2 separate regions of the Homo sapiens genome follow, and region 2 is linked to region 1. The links are contacts of gene promoters, found by promoter capture Hi-C in blood cells and fetal thymus (Javierre and others, 2016). All regions are on one chromosome and are shown on one strand. Each heading gives the region's core, a stretch centred on a gene start or on the middle of the fragment in contact. The rest is flanking DNA. Distances are from core to core; before and after follow the strand shown. Region 1 holds the start of DCUN1D5 (defective in cullin neddylation 1 domain containing 5). Region 2 overlaps CEP126 (centrosomal protein 126).

What was found. Contacts are between HindIII fragments. The CHiCAGO score rates a contact against its expected background, and 5 or more counts as called.
Region 2: a fragment that was not itself captured here is called in contact with the fragment with the promoter of DCUN1D5 in region 1 in 1 of 17 cell types (total CD4 T cells); the score reaches 5.1 in total CD4 T cells.

The regions. Positions count from the first base shown.
Region 1 is chr11:103,088,057-103,094,829 of GRCh38, reverse strand. It overlaps DCUN1D5 (defective in cullin neddylation 1 domain containing 5), which reads left to right and starts at 2,670. Exons shown (of 8, transcript NM_032299.4): 1 at 2,670-3,043; 2 at 5,512-5,603. The coding sequence starts at 2,958. RefSeq lists enhancers at 2,216-2,265, 2,336-2,385, 2,315-2,932, 2,933-3,550 and a silencer at 3,076-3,370. The HindIII fragment of the contact is 604 bases long and covers 2,467-3,070 here.
Region 2 is chr11:101,919,783-101,926,555 of GRCh38, reverse strand. It overlaps CEP126 (centrosomal protein 126), which reads right to left. Exons shown (of 11, transcript NM_020802.4): 2 at 3,796-3,915. Among named protein-coding and RNA genes, the nearest start is that of ANGPTL5, 6.6 kb to the right of the region's middle. The HindIII fragment of the contact is 5,772 bases long and covers 1-5,416 here.

The DNA of each region.
Region 1 (6,773 bases), core at 1,421-3,920:
TCACAGAGTGTACTTATACAAACCTGGATGATATAGCTTACTACACATCTAGGCTATACGGTACAGCCTATAGATCCTAGGCTACAAACCTGTACAGCATGGTACTGTACTGAATACTGTAGGCAATTTTAACACAATTGTATTTGTGTATCTCAACATACCTCAACATAGAAAAGGCACAGTAAAAATACAGTATTATAATCTTAAGGGACTATCATCGCATATGCACATCTTGACCAAAATGTCATTACGTGGTGCATGACTGTATTTCTCCCTCCAGACTGGCAGCTCCATGATTGCAGGAGTCATGTCTGCCTTTTATATTCTTAAGCCCAGTAAAGCTCCTGGTTGAAGTGATGATTAAATATTTTTTGAATAGATAGACTAAATGAATACCACACATAGATCCAGCCTTTTGTCTTTTTCTCAGAGTATTCTATGGGTGTGAGTAAGCTCCTATCCAGTTACTGCATTCAGCTCAATGTCCAGGATTTCCAGGTATAGTGGGGTCTTCCTTAGTTCGAAAGTGATTCCTTATGGTCCAATGGCCTATGAACTAAGAAGCAATAATCTACTTCCCACTCTCGCCCAATAAATAATGGTGAAGAAGGGACACAATTATCACAATAAAAAAATTCCTATTTAAAAAAGAACAGAAGATGAGATGTGCAGTGGTCTTTGGTCTATAGCAATGCTGGTAGCCTGCAAGACAGGCATTATGAAATTCCCTACTCTTTGATCAGGCCCTGATTCTACTCTGTGGAAGGACACCCCTTTAACATCATCCTCTGAGATCTTTCTTTCTATCCTTTAGGTTTTATTCCATTTCTTTGGTCCTCCTTGGGAAAAGGGGCTGTTTAGCTTTTGCAGCTCACCAGTTGAAGAAATAAGTTTGGCTATCTCTAATAGTTTTGTCATTATCATTTATTTTGTGTTTTGTTTTGCACATTTTATATAAATTTTATTTAGGAAGAATATGCATAAAAATATCAATTTTTAAGTGTACAATTCAATGAATTTTGACAAGTATATATACTATTACTTCAATCAAGACATAGAATATGTTCATTACCCAAAAAGTTCCCTTGTGTTTCTTTGCAGTCAGTCTTCCCCGGCTTACTCCATCCCTGTCCCCAAGTGTCACTGATATGCCATTGCTATAAGTAAGTTTTACATGTTCTAGAATTTCATCAAATATCCAGCCAGCATTAACATCTCCAATTGCCACAGAGATGTTATCATATTGTTTAAACTGTTTGTGTGAGTCAAATTCAAATAAGAACTGCATACTGAAAATGATTGACATATCCTTTAAGTCTTTTAATTTCCTTCTCTCTCCTCTCGTCCTAATAATTTGTTGCAGAATTTGGGTCATTGTCCTGTAGACTTTTCTGACGTCTAGATATTGCTGATTGCATTGGGTATTTAACATGTTCCTCTGTCCTGTACTTTTTGTAGATGGTAGTTCTATTTAGAGACTTTATCTGATTCTGTTTTGATTTTGGCCTCAGGCATTTTTAAATGGGTTGAAGGATCATATACTTTGACATTCTTTTGGTTTTAAGTAACAGAGAATTGAACTAAATATGCAAAATAGTGAAATTTGTTGCTTCACATAAGTGAAAATTCCAGGGCATATCATGGATTTTGGGCTCATATCATATAATCACATCCTGGTTTTTCTATTTTTCTGCTTGATACTAGTCTCTTCTGAGTTTTGGCTTCATTCTCCATACCTTCTCTGGTTCAAATCCATAGGAAATAAAATTGCTTTCTGGTGGTTCAATTTTGTGTCATTGGCACTCATTGGCCTGGCCTGAGTATGTGTCCATCCTGAACCAATTAATAACACTAAGGAAATATGATATTCGGATTGACCAGATTAGGGTGCCATTGTGAGGGTAGTTTCACAGGAACCACTTCAACTATTACTCAAAGACTTTTAGTCTTCTCCCATCACAGTTGGTTTGCAGAGATTATTTTACCAACAGAATTACTAACGACTTTCTACTATGTCTTTACATACAATAACCATTATTTAAAAACAGTATTTCCACCTAAGTGGAGATGAATAGATTACAGTGTGTTTTGGGTCTAGGGGGAGGTTCCTTAGAACTGTCCCCCAAATTTCTCTCTACTGAGTCGCAGTCACCTACTGTCTCTTATCGGAGAGGTGAGCTCTGTGGAAATAATGGCAGAGCTAAGTTTCAATACAGGACAAAGTGATATGCAAAGGTAGGGAGAAGGGGGAGTGGGTGGCTGATCACAGGCCCATAAAAAAAACACGCAAGACACAGGGTGACAATGCATTTACGGGGTGGGAACACTTCAGGTGAGGTTATCGTGTGGAAGAGCTCAGAAGTGGAACTTGGTCTACTTTACCAGGTTGTTTTTAACGTCAACTGCAAAGTATTAGTAGTTTCACTTTTTGGCGGTGACTGCCAGCATCAGAGCGCGGTAGAAGCTTCATGAGAAAGGTCAGGATACCCTGGACAGGATACAAGAATTCCGCGGACTGCCGCAGTCGACGGGTCAGACAGCTTCGCTCTGCCTGGCCTACCTACGAGTGGCAGAGGCTAACCGGAACCACGCCCCTTCCCGGGACCGGCTCCGCGATTGCGTCACTTCCGGGCCTCAGCGATTCGCCTCCGGGTTAGGCTGAGCCTCTTGCTTGCTGTGACTGGTGGAGCTGCCGCGCTGTCCGCGTTATCTCCTCCCGGTGAGAACGAACCGCAGTGTCCACCGGCGAGGAGCCAGCCCTGTCCCGGTCAGAGAAAGACGACGAGGATACCTGGGAGCGGGCGGCGGCCGGGCTGGGCCGCGCCGGTGCGGGCTGGCGACTCTGCTCCTCCGCTTGCTGCTGTCTCTGGGAACTGGGTGCCAGCGCTGAGGGGCTTCCAGCGGACAGGGACCCCCTTCCCCGGCTCCCCTGCCCACCCTGCCGGGGAGGGCGGAAGATGCCGGTGAAGAAGAAGAGAAAATCCCCTGGGGTGGCAGCAGCAGTAGCGGAAGACGGAGGCCTCAAAAAGTGTAAAATCTCCAGGTACCATCTCCCCCCACCCTTCAAGCTTCCCTCCTCCCTCCTTTGCTGGACAACTGGAGGAAAAGGAGTCGGGCCCGGCCTGCCGGGCTGGGGCTGGAGACAGGTGAGGCCCCTTTGATCGAGCTAGGCTGTAGGTGCCGAACACCGCGAGTCTCCGCGCCCGACCCGACCTCGTGTTCGAGTGTGTGCACGCTGGCGTTTATGGAGAGACTAGAAGAGCCGCCCACGTTAAGAGTCTACGTGCCCTGCAGGGTGGGGAACAGATGCATATGTAAATTGCGCTTCCCCCCACCCCCACCCCCACCCCACAACCGACCCTCGATCCCCTACTCCCGTATCGCTCCTCTGCCTTTTTCTAGACTTAGAAGTGAGTACATATCCGCAGAAGGGTCACTTCTAGAATTTCTTTGTAGAGTGTGAAGAAAGCAGAACATAAGGAATCTTGACAACTGTCTTGGGAATGGTAGAAAGGAAAACTTGTATGCTATAATTGGCCTCCATATTTAGTATTTGGAGTGGCCTAACCCGGAAGGTCCCAGCAGGAGGCCTTTTAAATTGCAGGAGCCCCATTTTCTGGAAGTATAGTGCCTCACCTATGCCAAGTCCCTGTGTGCAGAGTTGGAAAGGCCCTGCATGCTTTTTGTCTTCTAGCATTCAGGACGCTGTTAGCTCTCAGCATAAATTAAATAATTTGTGAGCTCTTGTACTCTGTCCTACTGGTAAGAAAGAAGACAAGGCAGAACTATATAGTAGTAGCTCTTTGATCCCCTTGTAGCATATCATGGAGGCATCACAGCAAAATTTATGCTACAAAAAAACTGCAATTTTGGTTTGAGAAATGGTTTTTTTGTTTTTTTGTTTTGTTTTGTTTTTCTGAGACGGAGTCTTCCACTGTTGTCCAGGCTGGAGTGCAGTGGCGCGATCTCCGCTTACTGCAACCTCCGCCTCCCGGGTTCAAGCGATTCTCCTGCCTCAGCCTCCTGAGTAGCTGGGATTATAGGCGCCCGCCACCACGCCCTGCTAATTTTTTGTATTTTTAGTAGAGACGGGGTTTCACTATGTTGACTAGGCTGGTCTTGAACTCCTGACCTCGCGATCCGCCCGCCTCGGCCTCCCAAAGTGCTGGGATTACAGGAGTGAGCCACCTCGCCCGACTGAGAAATGCTTTTTTAAAAAATAACCATATTAGCTGCCTTTTCATCAATGGTTGGCACTTGATATGACAACTTCAGATGCTACTATTGAAAGGAGACTGTAGCCAGGATTATAAGAAGGAAATAATGATAGAGCTCTCCTTAAAGAGAGATCTGCTTAAACTGTGAGGTAGATGACTTACATAGTCTGCATCTTCTTTTTTGTAATTGGTCGACTTTTTTCCCTCATTACTGTGTTTTGGTAAAGGAGTCTATGGAGTATTAGGCTATTAATGTGAACGATGATACATACACCTCTTGTTTGTCAACATTAGAATTTGACATGGTTACTTTAGTAGCTCACATTTTTATAAGATACAGGCAAATTATTATTCATTTTTGTACTATATCATGGCCATCTTAAGTATATAATGTATTAAAATTATTTAAGTTAAGTACATTAAGATAGCTGAGCAGGCAGTATTATTAGAACTCAGGTGATACTTTGCTCTATCAATTTAAATTTTTAAATATGATACTCTTACTTTACTCAGTTACAGAAGTTCTATCATTTCTATATCATTGTGGTAGGGTAATTATTTGAGTTCCTTGAAAAAAGTTTCTCTGAAGGCCATTAAATTCTAGAGGCCATTTTGAACTTACCAAATTTTAGTTATTTTATGAAAAACAATGAAAATGATTTTATGAAAAAAATGAAATAGAATGAACAGAACCTAGGATTAAATAGCCTTGTCCCAATTATTTGGACTATTATTAACTTTTAGTGTTTTTTTGTTGTTTTTTTTAAATCTGTGTAATTTAATATACCCTTAGGTCCTAAGTCATCATTTATCTTTAAAAATCTATTTAAGCTTAGGTGATAAAACAACTCTTAATATAACATTTTATTTTGAAATATTGATTCATTAAGTATCAAAATATACTTTGTAAGAGTTTGTTTTCAAATATTTATCTATTACACACAAATAGAATTTCTATGCAAATCAATAGAATCATAATAAATATTTATACTTTCCCACCTACTAGGTTGAACTTCTTTGTAGTCTTTTAAAATGTGCGGAAATAACTTACTGATATTTTTGGATTTTGATACTGAGTGAAAAGGTATTTGGGTTTTGTTAGCCGATAATTCTTATGTATAGACTACTGTTTCAAGTTGCAATTACTTAACAACTTCAGTTTTTTTCCAACAATGCCAACCGAAGAAAAAAAAAACCTTTGTTTAATGTGAATGGAAGTTGTTAATTTTGAACTTAGTTTTTCTCTAAGAGTTGAGATGTGATAAAAATCTTAGGCGTCTGTGTGTTTTCTAAGCTATTGCAGATCCCAACCCCCTGCTAGACTAATAAGTGGAGAGGAACATTTTTCAAGCAAGAAGTGCCTGGCTTGGTTTTATGAATATGCAGGTAATGAAATTAATATAAGAAGATACTAGTCATATGCTTTAAAAAGTTTATTTGCCTTATTCATTTAACAAATTATCTGTTACAGGCCTGCTATGTGTTAGTGCTGTGTACTGGGATGAGGGTCAGGACTGAAGATTGTGGGTAGACTAAAAATTTGTTGCCAATTTAGGCTGATATTTCTTTAAATATATATTCGGTATATATTTACTGGGAGGGAAGAACTCATTTACTATTAATAAAACGTGTAAACAAAGATTCATTTATTTACATCTATTGGCTAAAGTAGTATTCTGGAAAATAAAAGGTACACAATAAAACATTTTTGTATTTGATATTGTGGAAAACACAAAGTACATAATAAAACATTTCTATTCAATATTCTCTTTTTGAAATTTTTCTGAACTAACATTTTCTGAAACTTTTGGGGAGACATAGTAAAAGATTTAAACCCCTCAGTTATAATTGTACAACACATTTACTTTTTAACAATTATCATTTAGCCATCCACTTCTACTAGAGATGCAATAGTAAGAAAATAAATAGACTGATATTAATACAGTGTGATAAATACTATATTCAGAAGATACACTGTGAGAGTTCATAGGAGGGATATATAACCCAGCTTTTAAAGTGTCATGGGAGTTTTCTAGAGGAGCTAACTTAACCTCAGCTAAATCTTGTAACTGGTGGATGAAGAGCCCTAGGCCCAGGATGGGGTTGTGTTTTAGAGGCGAAAGTCAAAGCCAGCCAGAGATGGGGCTGAAGAGTTAAGCAAATATATGCAAAAGAACACTTATACTATCTCATAAATATATATGGAATTTTTTTCCCCTTAGAATAGTTTTGTTTTTTTGGAGTTATTGATTTTAAAGCTTTTTTCTTTTCCTTTTCCTTTTTTTTAACCTGCTTCACTTTTTTTTCTCCTTCTTTTAATCACTATCATTCTCAAAATGTTTGTTTAAAATGGAAGTGTATATGTAGCTATTGCCTTATATTTAGTGCTCATCCACATTAAGGTCTAAAGTAGTATACTTTGAACTTGAGGTATAAGTTTAGGCTAATTGTATGGAATGTGAGACTATTTTGAAAGGGGGGCAGTAACTTTACTGTTGGAATCAGCTGAGTGATCCCAAAGTACAATTTTAAAATTGTTTAGTAACAGAACAGATT
Region 2 (6,773 bases), core at 1,281-3,780, 1.2 Mb after region 1:
TCTGCCCCTTTGCTATAATGAGCTAAAATATAAATCTGATCATGACACTCCTCTGATTTTATTCCTTCAACAGCATCTTTGATTTCTTTAGATTGGCATAAAAGTTATTTCATAACGTGTACTATCAACACTGTAACTTCCTCTCCTGATACTCTTCCACATATTCCCATGCATCAGCCACATACAACTTTTGTCGTGTATTTCATAACATTAGGCTTTTTCACATATTGTTCTCTCTAAATAAAACATCTCCCTTCCTCTTCATCTTCCCTGGCTAACTCTTGGTTAACTAATACGAGAGACTTTGTTCTTCCAGGAATTCTTTCTTGTCCTTTAAGTCTATGGCATGTGCTTCCATAGAATCTCGTAAGTGATGCTATTGTAGTACTTACTGCATAGCATTGCCATCTTTTATTACTTCACTATCAGTAATCTGAGGACAGAAATCATGTTTTTTATTGTTTTATCTTTCGGAATATGAAACCTTGGGGTTTCCTAGTAAATATTAGTTGAGTGAATAAATGACTATCTTACGTAACAACATTTTAAATAGTCAAAGATAACTTCCAAATATCCAAATTTTCTTTAATATAGTATGGATGGCTGGGCACAGTGGCTCATGCCCGTAATCCCAGCAGTTTGGGAGGCCGAGATGGGCAGATCACTTGAGTCCAGGAGTTCGAGACCAGCCTGGCCAACGTGGCGAAACCCCGTCTTTACTAAAAATACAAAAATTAGCCGGGCATGGTGACGGGCGCCTGTAATCCCAGCTACTTGGGAGGCTGAAGCAGGGAGAATTGCTTGAACCCAGGAGGTGGAGATAGTGGTGAGCCGAGGTCACGCCACTGCACCCTCTGCCTCCTGAGCTCAAGCAATTCTCTGCCTCAGCCTCCTGAGTAGCTGGGATTATAGGCACCCGCCACAACACCTGGCTAGTTTTTGTATTTTTAGTAGAGACGAGGTTTCACCATCTTGGCCAAGCTGGTCTTGAACTCCTGACCTCGTGATCCACCCACCTCAGCCTCCCAAAGTGCTAGGATTACAGGTGTGAGTCACCACGCCCGGCCAGATAATTGCCGGTAAACTTTTCTAAAGTTTACTGGTAGAACAGATTAACAAAATAAATTCTTTTCCTGACATAATGTTGAATCATTTGTGCTCACTGAATTCTCCATGTTGAGTGAATAAATGCCCATTCACGTATTTACCAAAAGATAGTTCTGGTTGGTGGACTGAAAAAGCAGGAAATAAGCCAGTTTATTTCCTTTCTGTGTGTGTATCTCAAAATTCCTTGGTCTACAAAGAAGCATATTAGAAAGTAACTTGAGGATGTACTCCAGCAAACTAATGGAATACAAAGAACAAACAAACAAAGGGATGCTATGAGAGGCAAAAAATTATGGCTCCAACTCCTAAGAGCAATAAAAGAAAGTTCTGGGATGCCAGTTGTGCAATAGGCCTAAAAGATAACCAGCATCTACTGGAGCCGGAAACAAAGGGGACTTGGAGGGAAACAAAGGGGACTCCATTGTATAGATACTGACTGAGAGAATGGAAAACTTGAGGATGTGATAAAAGCATACAATGCAAGAAAAATATTGGCTAATAGAAATGCAATAAATAATAAGAAAATAAAAATGTGTGTGATTTAAAGCAACTAATGAAAATAAAGAGAACTTGATGCTAGGAACATTTTCCTTTGACTTCTGCTGGACACATAACACTGACAATGTCAATGTATAACTGACAAATGGCAGGAGACTGTCTCTACCTGAAGAAAATACTATTTAAAAAAAAAACCCAAAACCACCTATAATCCCAGCACTTTGGGAGGCTGAGATGGGAGGATCACTTGAGGTCAGGAGTTCAAGACCAGCCTGGCCAACATGGCGAAACCTTGTCTCTATGAAAAACACAAAAAAATTAGCCGGGCACGGGGGTGCGTGCCTGTAATCCCAGCTATTCGGGGGGTTGAGGCAGGGGAATCGTTTGAATCTGGGAGGCGGAGGTTGCAGTGAGCTGAGATTGTGCCCCTGTACTCCAGCCTGAGTGACAGAGTGAGACTCCATCTCAAAAAAACAAAACAAAACAAAAAACCACACACACACACACACACAGCCCCAAAACAACAACAAAACAAAAAAATCCTCTGTGACCACAATGTAAGTGGACAGCATAAACTTAAATGATGTAAAGTATAAATTGATAGACAATGGCATGGTTAAGAAGACCATAATCATAGACAGCTTCTGAAATTCGGATGTGCACAAATAATTCAGCCCCCTTATAAAAGGTGAAATACAGAGACAAATGATTAGTGTTTTAAAAGAAATGTTTATGTATCTTTACATTGCACTTTAGGGTAACGGAAAATAAAACACAATAATATTGTATTGGAAAATGTCCTGCCTCTTAGAATTTTAAACCAAGATTTCTTTTCTGTTATTTTCTACATAAGAATTCTTACATTTGATGAGAGAATACAAATAGAAAATTTATTAATAAAATTCCATAAAGGCTTGCTATTAAAGTTGATTATTGTAAAATAAACAACTGATAAACATTAATAATAAAAAATAAGAAGTCCTATGTGTCAGACACTGATATTTTTACATGTATTCTCAAATATTCCACTTTATTTCTACCCTTTCTGCTCTACACCAAAATCCCTTGAAATAGATGTAATTAATTCCAATCATAAATGAGAAAACTGAGGCTTAAAGACATTAAACAGACATCCTTTAATTCATAGAGCTAGTATTTCCTAGATCTCTGACTCCAAAGTCCATTACTCTTTCAACATATGATTATTCATCTTTACTGAACACCTGTCACACGCCGTTTATAGATGCCAGGAGCCCAAAGGTAGGAGAAAAGCAGAAACCTATGCATACAAAATAAAATTCTAAATTTCAGTAAATAATTTCAACTACATCAGACAATAAAAAAGTTAATCTGAAGAGAAACATAATGCCAGGCAAAAATTACAGGTAAACAATTTTTTATTCCCCAAATGGGATTTGTTAACATATGCCCAGTGATGTAGTTAATAAAGTCTAGGGATTTTCTGCTATTCATATATTGTAGAAATATGGACAAGGTAGCAAAAACAACAATTAAAAAATGGCATAACTGCTCTGTCTCAAAAAAAGCCTAATATTTAAAAAACATCCTGAAAAATGTTAAGCAGTGATTGAACAATTTGTACTTTTTCTTTACTATAGTTTCTAGTTTACCCTAGAAAGCTCCTTTTTCTAGCATTCACTTATAAAACATTTCTACCACTTCTACTGTTATTCATATTGCTACCATTATTCATATTTTTCCAATTTTTATACCATTATTCATATTTTTTCCAATTTTTCAGATTGAACGAATGAAAAGTGGCAGATATAGAAAAATTATATAGAAGTGAATAACAAATTAAACTCAAACTATATACCAAAAGACTAAATATTAATTGGTAATTTTAAAATCATCATGAAATCATGAAATGATACAAAAAAAGAAGATAATACATTTCATAGTCATTTTAAGAAGTGTATATGACAATGCAATAAGCTGTTCTATGACAAAAAAAGACTGCTACTGTCAGAGACCTAGATAATACACCACCACCCTTGTGCTTTGGGAAGGAAAACAATAATAAAATTTACAAAGCCACACAAATCTTGATCAATGTTTCACAGATAACACTGCCATGACTTAGTTTCATAAAGTGCTACAAAGTAGAGAAACTATTACTTTATATTGACTTTGAATTTCTATACTTCTGAATAAAGTGCAATTACTTACTTTTTTCTCCGATTTGACTCCACAAAATATTTACGTGCTCGATTTCGACATATTTTTTGTTGCTGCAGTAATATCTGGCGCTCTTCTTCTAAATTTTTCTCCAGATGGATTTTCATATCTCTAATGATAGCATTAAGTTAAGAACAATGGTCTACATCTTTAGTGGATGACTGTCAGTGCTATATGATAAATATAACTACAGCCTCATGCAAATGATGTAATGATAGTTTTTGTGGAATAATTAGTATGTGCCCACATTAGTATATGACTGGCAAACATTTTATGTAAAAAAAATTCGGGGCTGGGTGCGGTGGCTCACACCTGTAATCCATCACTTTAGGAGGCTGAGGCAGAAAGATCACGAGGTCAGTAGGTCAAGACCCGGCTGGCCAACGTGGCAAAACCCCGTCTCTACTAAAAATACAAAAATTAGCTGGACGTGGTGGTGCATGCCTGTATTCCCAGCTACTTGGGAGGCTGAGGCAGGAGAATCGCTTGAACCCGGGAGGCGGAGGTTGCAGTGAGCCAAGGTTGTGCCATTGCACTCCAGTCTGGGTGACAAGAGCAAGACTCCATCTCAAAAAAAAAAAAAAAAATTCTGACTTGGTATTAGAAAGTAAGATATAGCTCACTTTTCCTGGAGAAAAAAAATCTACTTTTAGAAATCATGAGCTCAGGCTGGGCGCGGTGGCTCACACCTGTAATCCCAACACTTTGGGAGGCTGAGGCGGGTGGATCACCTGAGGTCAGGAGTTTGAGACCAGCCTGGCCAACACGGTGAAACCTGTCTCTACTGAAAACACAAAAATTAGGCGGGCGTGGTGGCGGGTACCTGTAATCTCAACTACTCAGGAGGCTGAGGCAGGAGAATCTCTTGAACCTGGGAAGCAGAGGTTGCAGTGAGCCGAGATTGCGCCACTGCATTCCAGCCTGGGCAACAAAAGCGAAACTCCATCTCAAAAAAAAAAAAAAAAAAAAAAAAAGAAATCATGAACTTCAGATAAAGAGGACTGTATATCTTCATTCATTACACAGTTTTTTTTTTTTTTTTTTTGAGACAGAGTCTCACTCTGTTGCCCAGGCTGGAGTGCAGTGGCATGATCTTAGCTCACTGCAACCTCTGCCTCCTGGGTTCAAGTGATTCTTCTGCCTCAGCCTCCCAAGTAGCTGGGACTACAGGCATGTGCCACCACACCTAGTCAATTTTTGTATTGTCAGTAGAGACGGGGTTTCACCATGTTGGTCAGCCTGGTCTCGAACTCCTAACCTCAGGTGATCCACCTGCCTCGGCCTCCCATAGTGGTGTGATTACAGGCGTGAGCCACCGTGCTTGGCCTCATTACACAGATATTTGAGTACTTACTAACAAGTTGCCCTCATAGTCATGAATATAAGAAAATGAAATAAGAAGATTGTATTTTACTAATAGAAAGTAGATGGAGTAAATGTTTCACCAGATCCCTTAATCTATAGTAGGAAAGTACATTTTCAAATATTAAACAATCAAATAGCAATATAACTAGAATGGTTAGGAATACAGTTTAGTTATTTACTTAGTGACTTAGTGGTTATAAAAAACCACTAGGAAAACTATGTATAGTCATCTGTGTATCCAGAAGCTTGTCAGAGAAAAAGAGGAATATTTTGGTTATCCTAATCATCTATTCACTTGAAATTTATTTTATAAAATTAAACTCTCCTTAAATAAGTTGTAGCAATATGAGTAATTTCTCCAATTTATTTAGTTGCGTTTTAATTGACATTATTAAGTATCTTTATCAAATTTGTCAGAGTAATTTTCTGTTTTTCATGAGTCTTCTGTTTTTAATGATTTTGAATTAAAAGAAGTTCATTTGGCTGGGCGCAGTGGCTCACACCTGTAATCCCAACAATTTGGGAGGCCAAGGTGGGCAGACTGCTTGAGCCCAGGAGTTTGAGATGAGCCTGGGCAATATGGTGAAACCCCGGCTCTACAAAAAATGCAAAAATCAGCCAGGTGTGGTGGTGTATGCCTGCAGCCCCAGCTACTTGGGAGGCTGATGTGGGAAGATCGCTTGAGCTTGGAGGGGGTTGAGTCTGCAGTGAGCTAAGAACACGCCACTATACTCCAGCCTGGGCAACACAGCGAGACTCTGTCTCAAAAAAAAAAAAAAAAGTTCATTGAATTACCGTGTAATCACATTTAGTACCTCATCATTAGATGTAGAAATATATGAGATTATACTGAAGTTATAGATTGTAGGGCATATCTATTTGTCTTTTTTAGAACAAACAGCTTGTTTAAAAACTTTTTACGCTAAGATGGAGGTCCAAAATTCTCTTTAAAGGCTGCATTTAATCAAGATTGTAAAAATCTCATAAATTGATTATTAATGGTAAAACAGAATACTAGAAATACACTCAATAATAAACTATGCGGTACATAATTTGTTAATTCAACATGTTAATTTCAGGATCCTATAGTGCTTCAGCATCAATATTATAAAGAAACTCTATTATTACATATTTCAGAATAACAGGTTTATTTGAACATTTTGTTGTTTAGACCTTTGCTGATGGGGGCTTATTTGTTTTCTTTTGTGTTGCTATTTAACCATCTTTATACCATAGGCCATAATTCATTTTACCTTCATTTTAAATAAAATTTTACACTACTTCAAGACAAAGACCCAAACACACTCACAAACATATTTTTACTTAAAGATTTCTTTTAAAGGATTTATAAAAATCAAACCAAAAGGGAAGAAAATTTGGTTCTTTGCTAGCACAGAAAAACTGTTTTTCTCTGATAGAATATTTTAACAAGAGCCAGACTTCAACAAGATGTCTAGGTATTAAAAGTGACAACTCGGCAGTAAAGAAAAGTGCAACTTCCTTTCAGGGTGCACAGGGCCAACATGAGGTTGAGGGGAGGAAGATGCTTTGGCTTAAGTGAGAAGCAAGGAGGAGACAGTTCTGTTCTCTGTTTGACATGTTTG